Linked DNA regions of Homo sapiens: all the other regions are linked to region 3. Evidence: promoter capture Hi-C in 16 types of primary human blood cells and fetal thymus (Javierre and others, 2016). All regions are on one chromosome and are shown on one strand. The core of a region is centred on a gene start or on the middle of the fragment in contact, and the rest is flanking DNA. Distances in the headings are between cores, read along the strand shown. Region 1 has its middle 43 kb from the start of BNIP2. Region 2 has its middle 9.2 kb from the start of BNIP2. Region 3 holds the start of FOXB1 (forkhead box B1). Region 4 has its middle 72 kb from the start of ANXA2.

Region 1 (2,700 bases), core at 134-2,633, 270 kb before region 3:
ATGTGAACAACTATATATTTATATCATTTTAATGACTCTTTATTTGATTTTTAAATTTTCCCATAATTTATTTAGCTGGTGAGTTTTTATTTATTTGCAGAAAGGAGGAACTCGACAAACTGCTTACTGCTAGAATAAGTTATAAGTAGAACACAATCTGAAATTATTCTGAAATGCTTCTTAATTATGGTAAAATCGTAGGTTTATTTGTAACTTAATATAGTGTTGGGCTAATTTGAATGCAGATGTATCTTGAGAAATGAATGGTATTTCACCCTGTACTCTAGAAATTATGAGGACTATTTGAATATTTTCCAGCGATCCATGTTAAAGTGAGCATTTTATATCTGAAGCCAGTGCCATTGATATATTGCTGGTTCCATGCGTGGATATTTTACATCTTTTGTTACATTAAAAGGGAGGCAAGCATGCAGTTTGATAACATGGCATAATTAGGTTGTTATGCCAAATAACAGCCATATCTACACTAGCATTTGGCCTGGAATAAGGCAGTATGAATTGTGGAACAGGTGAATGCTAGAGACTGTCAGATACAAACTCTTCATTTTACAAATGGGGAAATGGAGCTCAGAGGGCTGAGTTCTAGAACAGTGCTCTTTTCACCATTAAGTGGTTTTGCAAAGTTTTTAAAATAGCCTTTTCTCCTTTTTAAATGAATTCTTACTGGGAACACTAATATAAAAATGCCTAAAGGAAAGCTGCTCTGGCTGAAGCAGGGTGAAGGGCTGCAGGTACCTTCTTGGCCCCTATCTCTGTGCAAATGTGGTTTCTTAGGTTCAAAACCATGGGTACTATATCCTACTACCTGGCTTCTTTGTGCTCTTCTTTCCTATCCCCCAGCTTGCTATTTTAAGAATAGTTTTCTATCTGGAAAGCTCTTTTTTTTTTTTTTTTTGGAGACAGAGTCTCGCTCTGTTACACAGGCTGGAGTGCAGTGGCACAATCTCGGCTCATTGCAACCACCGCCTCCTGGGTTCCAGCGATTCTCCTGTCTCAGCCCCCCGAGTAGCTGGGATTACAGGCGCCCACTACCACACCTGGCTAATTTTTGTATTTTTTGTAGAGACAGGGTTTTGCCATGTTGGCCAGGCTGGTCTTGAACTGCTGACCCCAAGAGATCTGCCTGTCTCAGCCTCCCAAAGTGTTGGGATTACAAGCATGAGCCACTGTGCCCAGCCTGGAAAGCTCTTCACTGGGAGTTATTTTATCTCTTATGCATCAACCATCTCTAGCCAGAAATTGAAGAATGACATTTGGGGTTAAATGCATAAAAGCCTTTGTTTCAGGTAGACCTAGTCTTAAAGGTCAGAAAAAAGACATATTCCAGTGATATTGTTCCAGCTTCAGAGCAGCACTCTGGCAATGACTATTATGTTAATGGTGAAATATATTCAATAAAACATTGATTTTTGCTATTCAATGGCACTTTGCCACAAGGGTGATCATAGAGCCAGTAGATCACAAAAAATTTACTATAATTTTAGGGACATTTTTATTCCAACATTTTATGAAAGGTGAACCACTCTATTACCTAATTCAGTGGCATATATAAAAATTATTAAAACCCATCTAGATTATTACTTTATTGATATTTCTCACCTGCACATTCTATAATATACAATGTTTATCTTGGAATGACAATACCTTGCTGCACAAAAAGAAAATTGAAAACGAGATCTTCTCTAAGAGAAAAGCAAGATCATTATGTAAACAGCAGCCGGGTCTCATTCAGAATATGTCACATAAATACCACACCATCAAACAAGAAATGTAAATTATTATACATATGCTGTAATTGAAAATTGTATTATACATTAGTGAAGTCACCCATTTATCTAATCACAATCAGTTCCCATAAAATCTCATTTTGAAAAGTTGAGTGCAATTCAGGGGAGGTGGCTATGAGAATTTCAATCATGGAAATCTAAGTTTGGATTGAGATCTCAGCAAGGTCTGCAAGTCAGTTTTCATTGCTCCTCAGACATGCCTTTCAAATCTTTGAACTTATCTGTATGTGAACTGATCAGCCCAGCCTCTCATCTGGGGAGAGGAGATGAGATCAGCCAGCATTCGTGGCCCTGGTTCAAAAACAATGTGCAACACATGGTGCCATCTGAATGTTTTCTGGGCTTTCTCACCCCTTTCTGACTAGAACATAGTCACTTACGTTCATTCATTTGTTCACATTTTTTTAATTCAGCAAGTATTTACTTAGCACCTTATATGTCTAGGCTTTGTGCTATGAACTGACGACACAAAGGGAGCCAAAACACAGTTTCTGCCTTCAAGGTGTTGCCAGTCTAGTGGGGATAATAGAAGAACAATTGCACTATTTTATATGCAATTCTAAACTGTGATAGATGCAAAAAAGAAAGACAGAGGGTGCTATGAGAGCAAAGAACACATCTGGTGCTATGATTTAAACGTCTCCCACAGTTTACGTGTTGGCAACTTAATCCCTAATGCATCAGTGTTGAGAGGTGAGAACTTTAAGAACTGCTTAGGTCTCATGACTTTTAAGAGGGTTAGGGCTTGTTATTGTGAGAGTGGGTTTGTTATAAAAATGAGTTTGACCCTGTCTTGCTCGCTTGCACTCTCTTGCCTTTCTGCCTTCCACCATGGAATGATGCAGCAGGAAGGCCCTCACCAAATGAAAGCCCCTCAACCTTGGACTTCCCA
Region 2 (2,700 bases), core at 200-2,699, 310 kb before region 3:
CACCCAAGCCAACCTTGGACTAGAAGATGAGAGAGGATGAAGAAGATATTTGAGACGATGCTTAGGAAATGCTTGTGTAATTTCAAATTTTAGAAGATAAAAGATACATTGCACAAAACTCGCATGCTGCTTTACTTTTCACTGTAGGATTTTATAGACAGATTGTTATTCTCACTTACAAGCATATAAATTCAGTGATGTTTGGCAGCTTGCTCATAATTTTCAAAAAAAACATGAAGTAACCTTTTTACATGGGCTGAAGATGTCTTTGCTGGTTAAGCTTGAGGGTAAAACTGGATAAAATTATATATTCATTTAATAATTCATAACTTGAGTTGAAATGAATGTGTATATATTTTTCACTTGTTCACTTTATAAAATTCAAAACTAAACCCAGCAGCAGTTTTGTCTTTGGCATGGTGACAAGTTTCCTTTCTACAGTGAACCAGTCAAAGAAATTGTTCCAGAGAGAATTTGTGCTTCCCAATTTCAGAAAATCAAATTGGACTGTACACAATTACACATCACCGTTGTGTGATGCTTCCACATCCCAGAGTGTGCAAGAGAGAAGTAGCAATATACATTTCTAGGAAATACTTCCATCCGGCTGGGCGCAGTGGCTCACGCTTGTAATCCCGGCACTTTGGGAGGCCTGAGGTTGAGAGTTTGAGACCAGTCTGACCAACATGGAAAAACCCTGTCTCTACTAAAAATACAAAAAAATTAGCCGGGCATGCTGGTGCATGCCTGTATTCCCAGCTACTCGGGATGCTGAGGCAGGAGAATCGCTTGAACCTGGGAGACAGAGGTTGCGGTGAGCTAAGATTGTGCCATTGCACTTCAGCCTGGGCAACAAGAGTGGAACTCCATTTCAAAAAAATAAAAAAGAAATACTTCCATATACAATTAGATTATAGCCATTCAAGGGAAAAACTAGGCTTAGTTGTCAGAGGATTTTATTGCACAGAACTTTAGAGATTCAACTCATTCAAAGAAATAGCTAGGTTATAATTTGCAGTGAAGTGAGACTGAGCGTTCAGATATGGACATAGTCGTGTTTGCTGAGGAGGAGGGGGTGTGCATTTCATCCAACAGAAGTTGAGAAAGGCTGACACTAGCTTAAATGACTCATCAAAACCAATAGTGTGAAGAAATTGTTTTTTTTTTTTTTTTTTTTTGAGACAGGGTCTCACTCTGTCACCCAGGCTGGAGTGCAATGGCACAATCTCAGCTCACTGCAACCTCCGCCTCCCAGGTTCAAGCAATTCTCCTGCATCAGCCTCCCGAGTAGCTGGGACTACAGGCACGCCACTGCGTCAGGCTAATTTTTGTATTTTTAGTGGAGATGGGGTTTCACCAAGTTGGCCAGGCTGGCCTGGAACTCCTGTTCTCAGGTAATCAGCCCACCTCGGCCTCCCAAAGTGCTGGGATTACAGGTGTGAGCCACCGCGCCTGGCCAGTGTGAAGAAATCTTAAGAGTTCATATTCAAGTCCTTTGTGAGGATATTTCTGCAGTCATAAAAACTTACAAATATGAGTTTAAAATTATCTGAGGATATACATTTTATATTATAAAATCATAAACTTTGGCAAAATCATAGCAACCACTTGGTTACTATCATGGTCGCCATTTGGAAAGTAGCTGATGGACAGTGATGCATGTACACTGAATCCTCTACACTGAATAGTATACAAGATCTTCTACACTCAACAGGGGTCATTACAAAAATGATTCTTCACTGAAATAATTAATGCTCTTGCAAAAGTATTAATACATAGTATCTGCATGCTTGGTTTATAATTAAAGTAAAGATTAATCTTGATGAGGGAAGTAGATTTCGCTCTTTCTTCTGTTCTTCAGGATATGAAATGTTAGTAACACTGTGATCAACTATATTTAGAAAAACATGAATAAGCAATAGCCTCCAATTAGAAAAAAGCAGTTTGTTTGATTGATTGATAATTTTAGTAGTGATAATGTTTTTTAAATTATTTTTGGGGTGGGTAAGTGGAAGTAAGAATTGATCAACTAAAGCTAACTGTTTTGCGGTCAGTTTCAGTCTCCTTATCCAGATTAACACAAAATTAGATATAACACTGTCCTTCATCAAAGCATTAATCATTCATTCTGCATCTTTAGAGTCAAAGTGCAATCTTATTTGTTTAGAGAAAACAAATGCATTTCAAAATACACAAGTAATTGTTGGGTCAATTGGAAATTTTATTACATTTAACAAAACAAAGCACTGATATGGCTCTATGTAAGGCACATGCATTTTTATTTAATACAAATATAAAAATTAAAAGGTGGCATCTAATTCACTGTTGCAATGGGTAAATGTTCTACAAGTATATTTCCAAAAATAGTTTACATCCTAAAAGTAACTTACTCAGCTGAGAGAATCTAGGTTATTGTTTGTATTTTGAAACATGGGAACTCTGTAAATTGATAAAAATGTACTGAGTTTTAAAAATGAATTTCAGTATAACTGAGAAGAAAATATTAAAATTGTAACATTATTTCTCATTTATGTGGTTCCTTTATGATAAAGAAGGAGAAACACCTTCTCCTAATACAATTGCTAAAACACCAAATTGTACTTACTAGGAAAAAGAAGAAAGCTTTCCAATTTCAGGTATATACATAATAGGGAGAAATGAAATGCGAAGTTTAGTATGAATTATCTTCTTTAAAAGATC
Region 3 (2,700 bases), core at 104-2,603:
GCGTGCATGCAGGCGGGGTCGACTCACTATTTATTTCATAGCAATTTGATGATGATGATGATGACGGCAGCGACGACGATGAGGATAATGATAATAATAATAATGATTCATTTAACCCTTCCAAGGCGAATCCGAACCGAAGGGAGCCTGCTGCTCGCACCAGGCGGAGTGACCCAAGGCACATTCCCCGCTCCCCAAGAAGGAAAACTCTATGGTTCTTTCCCCAAGTTGTAGAAGATACTGCTGTCTTAGTGGGATCGCAGGCGGCTTTTGCTACACTCTAAATCCTAAATAAGTTCTCCATACCAAAAAAAGCGGCAGTTGGGGGATGGGGGGTGGGAGGTTGGGGGGGTGGGAGGGCTGGGAAGGGGAGTTCCGGGTGTAAAATGAAAACTTCCAGGATGTGCCTGAGTCCTAAAGTTTCAAACCACCTGGGAAAAGCGAGAGCCCCTGAGGCTTACCTGGTGATAAACTGTGTCAAACAAACTCAGGCCCTCCCCAGGTCCGCACAACATTTGCCCCAACAGCTCCTGAGCCTCCATCCTGTGTCCAACCAAATTCCCGGAGGACTTTTAAAGCAAATACCTGGACTCTTCGCCCAGATACACTATTTTAATTTTTAAAAATTTGGTCAATACAGTTACATTCAAAATGGGTTCTTACATGGGGATGTCCAATCACATTTTGAAAGTATTTGTAAACCCCATCACTTTTTCAAAGCTACACACTAACTATACAAAGCTGAAGCAGCTGCATAGGAAAGTCAAGTCAAATTTCGACCTAACTCTCCGGGGACTGGGGGGCAAGGGTGTGTTTTCATTATTATAACCCATGCAACCAACCCCGGGTAGTGCTAAGCGCAGGAAAAGGGTCGGCTTCAGGGGAAAGCCGTGCCTAAAGTTACCTAACGATACAAACCGGATACAACGCAGAGGAAACAGAATACCCCAGCCAAGCAATTTCCATGTCAAACATCATCCGCGCGGCTGCTCCATCTGTGAACGTGAGTGGTCGCCTGGCTCCCTCTTCCGCGGCGGCCGCTTCCTCATACCTTCACACGGCGCACACCGGCCGGCGCGTCCAGCTGCCTGCCCAGTGGCCGAGGCTCTTCCCCCTCGCCCAGTCTTGAGCTGGAAGTGATTCCTATTGGCCAAGGTGTCCATGTAAATAGGTGTGAAAGAAACCAGAGCTGGCCGGGCTCTCCCTTCTCGCTCAGTCCCCTCCCTCTGCAGCCCCCGCTCCCCCTCCTCTTCCTCCTCCTCCCAAGGCGATTGTCATATGATAGCTAAGAAGTGGCACATTAATGAAGCGCCGCTACAGGGGTCTTTTCTGCTCCTGTCACCGCTTAAAACTATCAGATGGTTCGAGGGAGGACATGGAGGCAGCCACCTAGCTCAGCGGAGACGCGGAGCCCACAGCAGCGCCCTCCGGAGCCCTAACACGTCGCTGCCACCATCCGCGCCGGGACTCCGCAGCCGAGCTCGGCCGCCCGCAGGACGCTCCAGGAGCGTCGCGGACCGGGCGGCACGGGACGCTGCGGGGCTGAGCTCAAGAGCCCAGGTTCGCGCCGAGTCCAACCGGACCCGGACGCTGCGCGCGGAGTGCGCGTCGAGTGCGCGCCGAGAGAGAAGCGGCGCGCAGCGGCGTCCTCCCGGATGCGGACGCGCAACTTGAAGCAACTTTAAGGTGAGCAGCTCTCTGTTCCGTCCCTGCCCCCTATTCTGGCCCCAGTACCGACTTACTTCCCGGCTATCCTCGCGCCGTTCGCCGGCTTCCCCTCCCGCGCCCACTAAGCCCGCAAAGTTGCTGGCGAAAGAGTCCGGGCGCTGGCTGATCGAGCGCCGCAGGCCCCACCCCCGACCCCCGAAGTCTGTTACTCGGTCTGGCTGACCCCGCCGGTGTCTCTGTGCATCCATGCTACCTTTCCCTATTACCCACCCCCTTCCCAGATCCGAGCAGTCCGCCGGCCCGCGCGGACCCAGAGCAAGAAGAGGGCGAGGAAGAAGATGCCTCGGCCCGGCCGCAACACGTACAGCGACCAGAAGCCGCCCTACTCGTACATCTCGCTGACCGCTATGGCCATCCAGAGCTCTCCCGAGAAGATGCTGCCGCTGAGCGAGATCTACAAGTTCATCATGGACCGCTTCCCCTACTACAGGGAGAACACGCAGCGCTGGCAGAACAGTCTGCGCCACAACCTCTCCTTCAACGACTGCTTCATCAAGATCCCGCGGCGGCCGGACCAGCCAGGCAAGGGCAGCTTCTGGGCGCTGCACCCAAGCTGCGGGGACATGTTCGAGAACGGCAGCTTCCTGCGGCGCCGCAAGCGCTTCAAGGTGCTTAAGTCCGACCACCTGGCGCCCAGCAAGCCAGCCGACGCGGCGCAGTACCTGCAGCAGCAGGCCAAGCTGCGGCTCAGCGCGCTGGCGGCCTCGGGCACGCACCTGCCACAGATGCCCGCCGCCGCCTACAACTTGGGCGGCGTGGCGCAGCCCTCGGGCTTCAAGCACCCCTTCGCCATCGAGAACATCATCGCGCGGGAATACAAGATGCCTGGGGGGCTGGCCTTCTCCGCCATGCAGCCGGTGCCCGCTGCCTACCCGCTCCCCAACCAGTTGACTACCATGGGCAGCTCGCTGGGCACCGGCTGGCCACACGTGTATGGCTCCGCCGGCATGATCGACTCGGCCACCCCCATCT
Region 4 (2,700 bases), core at 41-2,540, 320 kb after region 3:
CGCACAAGAGGAACAGAGTTTTCTTATGAAAATAAATTAGACAAGCACACAGAAGAAAAAGAAAATGATGTGCAACGGTTAAAATGTTTGAGAGCCTTACATGTGGCCAGCGAGCTCAGCAAAGGACACTGGTTTCTTTTTCTCTCTTCTTTAGTCTTTTATTCCCTACTCTCTGTTCTCCTTGCAGCAAAACAAATATTTTTCCTACCACAAATATTTTTAAGGTGCTACTTTTCAATTAACGATGTTTTATTTCTTTTGTGTGATGGGGTTTTTCTTTTTCGCACTGAAATGATAAAGACACTGAAGATGGCAAAGGGAAGCCCTAGGAACAGCCTTGCTACAATCCATCAGCTGCGATAATATCAAGATGAATATATTGTCAGGAATCTGTATGTAGCATTTCATTTATCCTACCCACTCTGCTAAGAGCGGCTCCCCCGGGGATTACATTATTATTCAAGCTTCCTGGACTCACTCCAAATGCATATTGCAACTACAATTCAAAGGGAAACTTATAAAAGGTGATAGGAAATAGACCTTCTACAGAACATTTTTTAAAAATTAACCTTTTCAGAGTTTAATTCCATCCTATATACCTATAAATAGACCAGCTTTCAGGAACTAAAAACTAATCCTATAGTAATAACACAAAGCTCAATTTCTCATTCCATACGATCATTAATATTACTTTAAAAATCACGAGAAATCTCTTCAACTTCTTAAGCATTGTAATTCATTTCTGTACACCAATTCAAGAAACCTCATTAGTTTAGGTGGCCTTTTTGCAATACCATCCAAGGCACGCAAATATTTGGAATTTTTACCTTAGGTCAGAGTTTAAGAAAAAAATGATTTCTCATTTCCAGAAAGGATTTATGAATGTAGAAAAATGCTTTTGTGACAGTGACATGTTTGTGTTACCTAATTCACAAATAAAATAAGCTATATAGAATATATGAAGTAAAAATCAAAAGGAAAAAAGAGAAAGGATTTTATATAAATGGTGGATAATTTTTAAGTAAAAAAAAATCTTGTTACATCCTTAACATTTTTAAATCTTGTTACATCCTTAACATTTTTTTCTATAACCCAGTTTCAATACTCCAATCAAATGTAAGATGGAAGAGCTTTGATTTGAGAGAAAAAAAATCCTTTGAACATTGATCGACATGTGATTTGTGCAATTATTTAACCTGGATTTAACTCCCTCTACTCTATGCTCAAATCACTTGATTGACTGAGATGCTGTTTCCATTGAGCTGGGTTTACAATTATCTTTAAACAAGCGAAACTTCAAAGGCTGCTCAATGGGTATTTTCCGTTCTTCATGAGAACTCGTAAATGTATAACCTGCATATAAACAAGTCACTCTACCTAATTAAATGGAATCTCTTCCTCTCTATTAAAAATTTAGAAGTGCTGCCTGGGTATAAACATGTCATCTCAGAAGGTGGGAGGAGAGACCCTCTTAACGTCCGTGAACAACCAGCTGAATCTCCTTTAAGCAAAGCCACGTTAATAATAGCACAGACACATAAATTATTCTAATTATTTTATTATCAGTAAAGATTGGTTAAACGGAAAGGGTGTTCATTGTTGGCAATTATGCCCTCAAGTTTTATCTGACTACTAGGGAAATGCAGTCCAGGGCTTTAATTTACTTCAGAGACCGTCACATAGCTTCTTGCCCACTTTCTTTTTCAAACATCTGTATCCTAGAAGAGGTAACAGGTAATGGAGCATTTTCGCTGATGGCTGCGTCTAGACTGGAAAATGTTTTTTTGTTTGTGTTTGTTTGTTTGTTTTTGTTTTCTTTAATCACATTTCTAGACTTAGAACTCTTAGGAAAATGATCCATAAAAGGTCTAGTTTGGAAATTGAAATGTTCTTAAAGCGTTTTGAGTTTGTGTTGTTTCGTTTGATTGTTAAAGGAAGAAAAGGTTCTTAAAGTCCTTGTCCCTTTTTTGAAAACTGATGGAGAAATTATAAAGCACCTCCAGCTAATGAAAATAGTTTACCTTGAGCTCAGGATTCACTGCTATAGCTCCCAATCTTCTTTTTTTAAAAAAAAGAAAAACTCTTTTCATAAAGTTTGAAACAATATTTGTGGCATTAAGCTTTATATCATAAGACCAGGCAGAAATTGCAGCATGTAAATGTTTGAAAAGGAGACGTAGACTTTTGAGCTGTGAGGTGCTTTGTTGGAGCGTCCTCTTGTGGTCAAATGTCATCAATACAACTTTAGAGTCACTTTTTTTTAAAGGGCGGTTTTGACAAACCCACAGTAGCGCAATGTTGACACAAGTTGCAATTCAGGATTGAAAGTTTGGTATCTTGTTAGATTTTGTATCCTCTCCTATTCTCCAGAAACACCTTAAAATGCATTCACTCAAGCAAACAGGAATTCATGAGAGCTCTTAAATATACAAGAACTCTTAAAATACACAAAAATTATGCACAAATGCAAGGCAATGCTCCTTACTGATCTGGGAACAGAGAAAGTCTACCTCATGAGGTGGCATCTCTCCCCAGGTGTCCTTCAACTGGCCATGGGAGGGACAGTTTTTTCCCATCAGCACCACTGTCAGAGGCCAATAGCATGAGATGTAGTGGCTGCAGGCTGGGTGGATCATGTCACCCATCACTGCCCCTGTGACGTTGAGTGCACCCATCTGCAAGGAGAAGGTATATCCCCAG

Evidence for each region. The method cuts DNA at HindIII sites, captures the fragments that hold promoters and counts their contacts. A CHiCAGO score of 5 or more calls a contact.
Region 1: a fragment that was not itself captured here is called in contact with the fragment with the promoter of FOXB1 in region 3 in 1 of 17 cell types (non-activated CD4 T cells); the score reaches 5.1 in non-activated CD4 T cells.
Region 2: a fragment that was not itself captured here is called in contact with the fragment with the promoter of FOXB1 in region 3 in 4 of 17 cell types (fetal thymus, M1 macrophages, megakaryocytes and 1 more); the score reaches 5.5 in fetal thymus.
Region 4: a fragment that was not itself captured here is called in contact with the fragment with the promoter of FOXB1 in region 3 in 7 of 17 cell types (M1 macrophages, M0 macrophages, fetal thymus and 4 more); the score reaches 6.6 in M1 macrophages.

Annotation. Positions count from the first base shown.
Region 1 is chr15:59,731,006-59,733,705 of GRCh38, forward strand. No RefSeq gene overlaps it. Among named protein-coding and RNA genes, the nearest start is that of BNIP2, 43 kb to the left of the region's middle. The HindIII fragment of the contact is 2,997 bases long and covers 1-2,700 here.
Region 2 is chr15:59,697,170-59,699,869 of GRCh38, forward strand. No RefSeq gene overlaps it. Among named protein-coding and RNA genes, the nearest start is that of BNIP2, 9.2 kb to the left of the region's middle. The HindIII fragment of the contact is 2,342 bases long and covers 279-2,620 here.
Region 3 is chr15:60,002,958-60,005,657 of GRCh38, forward strand. It overlaps FOXB1 (forkhead box B1), which reads left to right and starts at 1,354. Exons shown (of 2, transcript NM_012182.3): 1 at 1,354-1,686; 2 at 1,950-2,700. The coding sequence starts at 2,007. RefSeq lists an enhancer at 1,035-1,550. The HindIII fragment of the contact is 10,028 bases long and covers 1-2,700 here.
Region 4 is chr15:60,324,800-60,327,499 of GRCh38, forward strand. No RefSeq gene overlaps it. Among named protein-coding and RNA genes, the nearest start is that of ANXA2, 72 kb to the right of the region's middle. The HindIII fragment of the contact is 1,656 bases long and covers 463-2,118 here.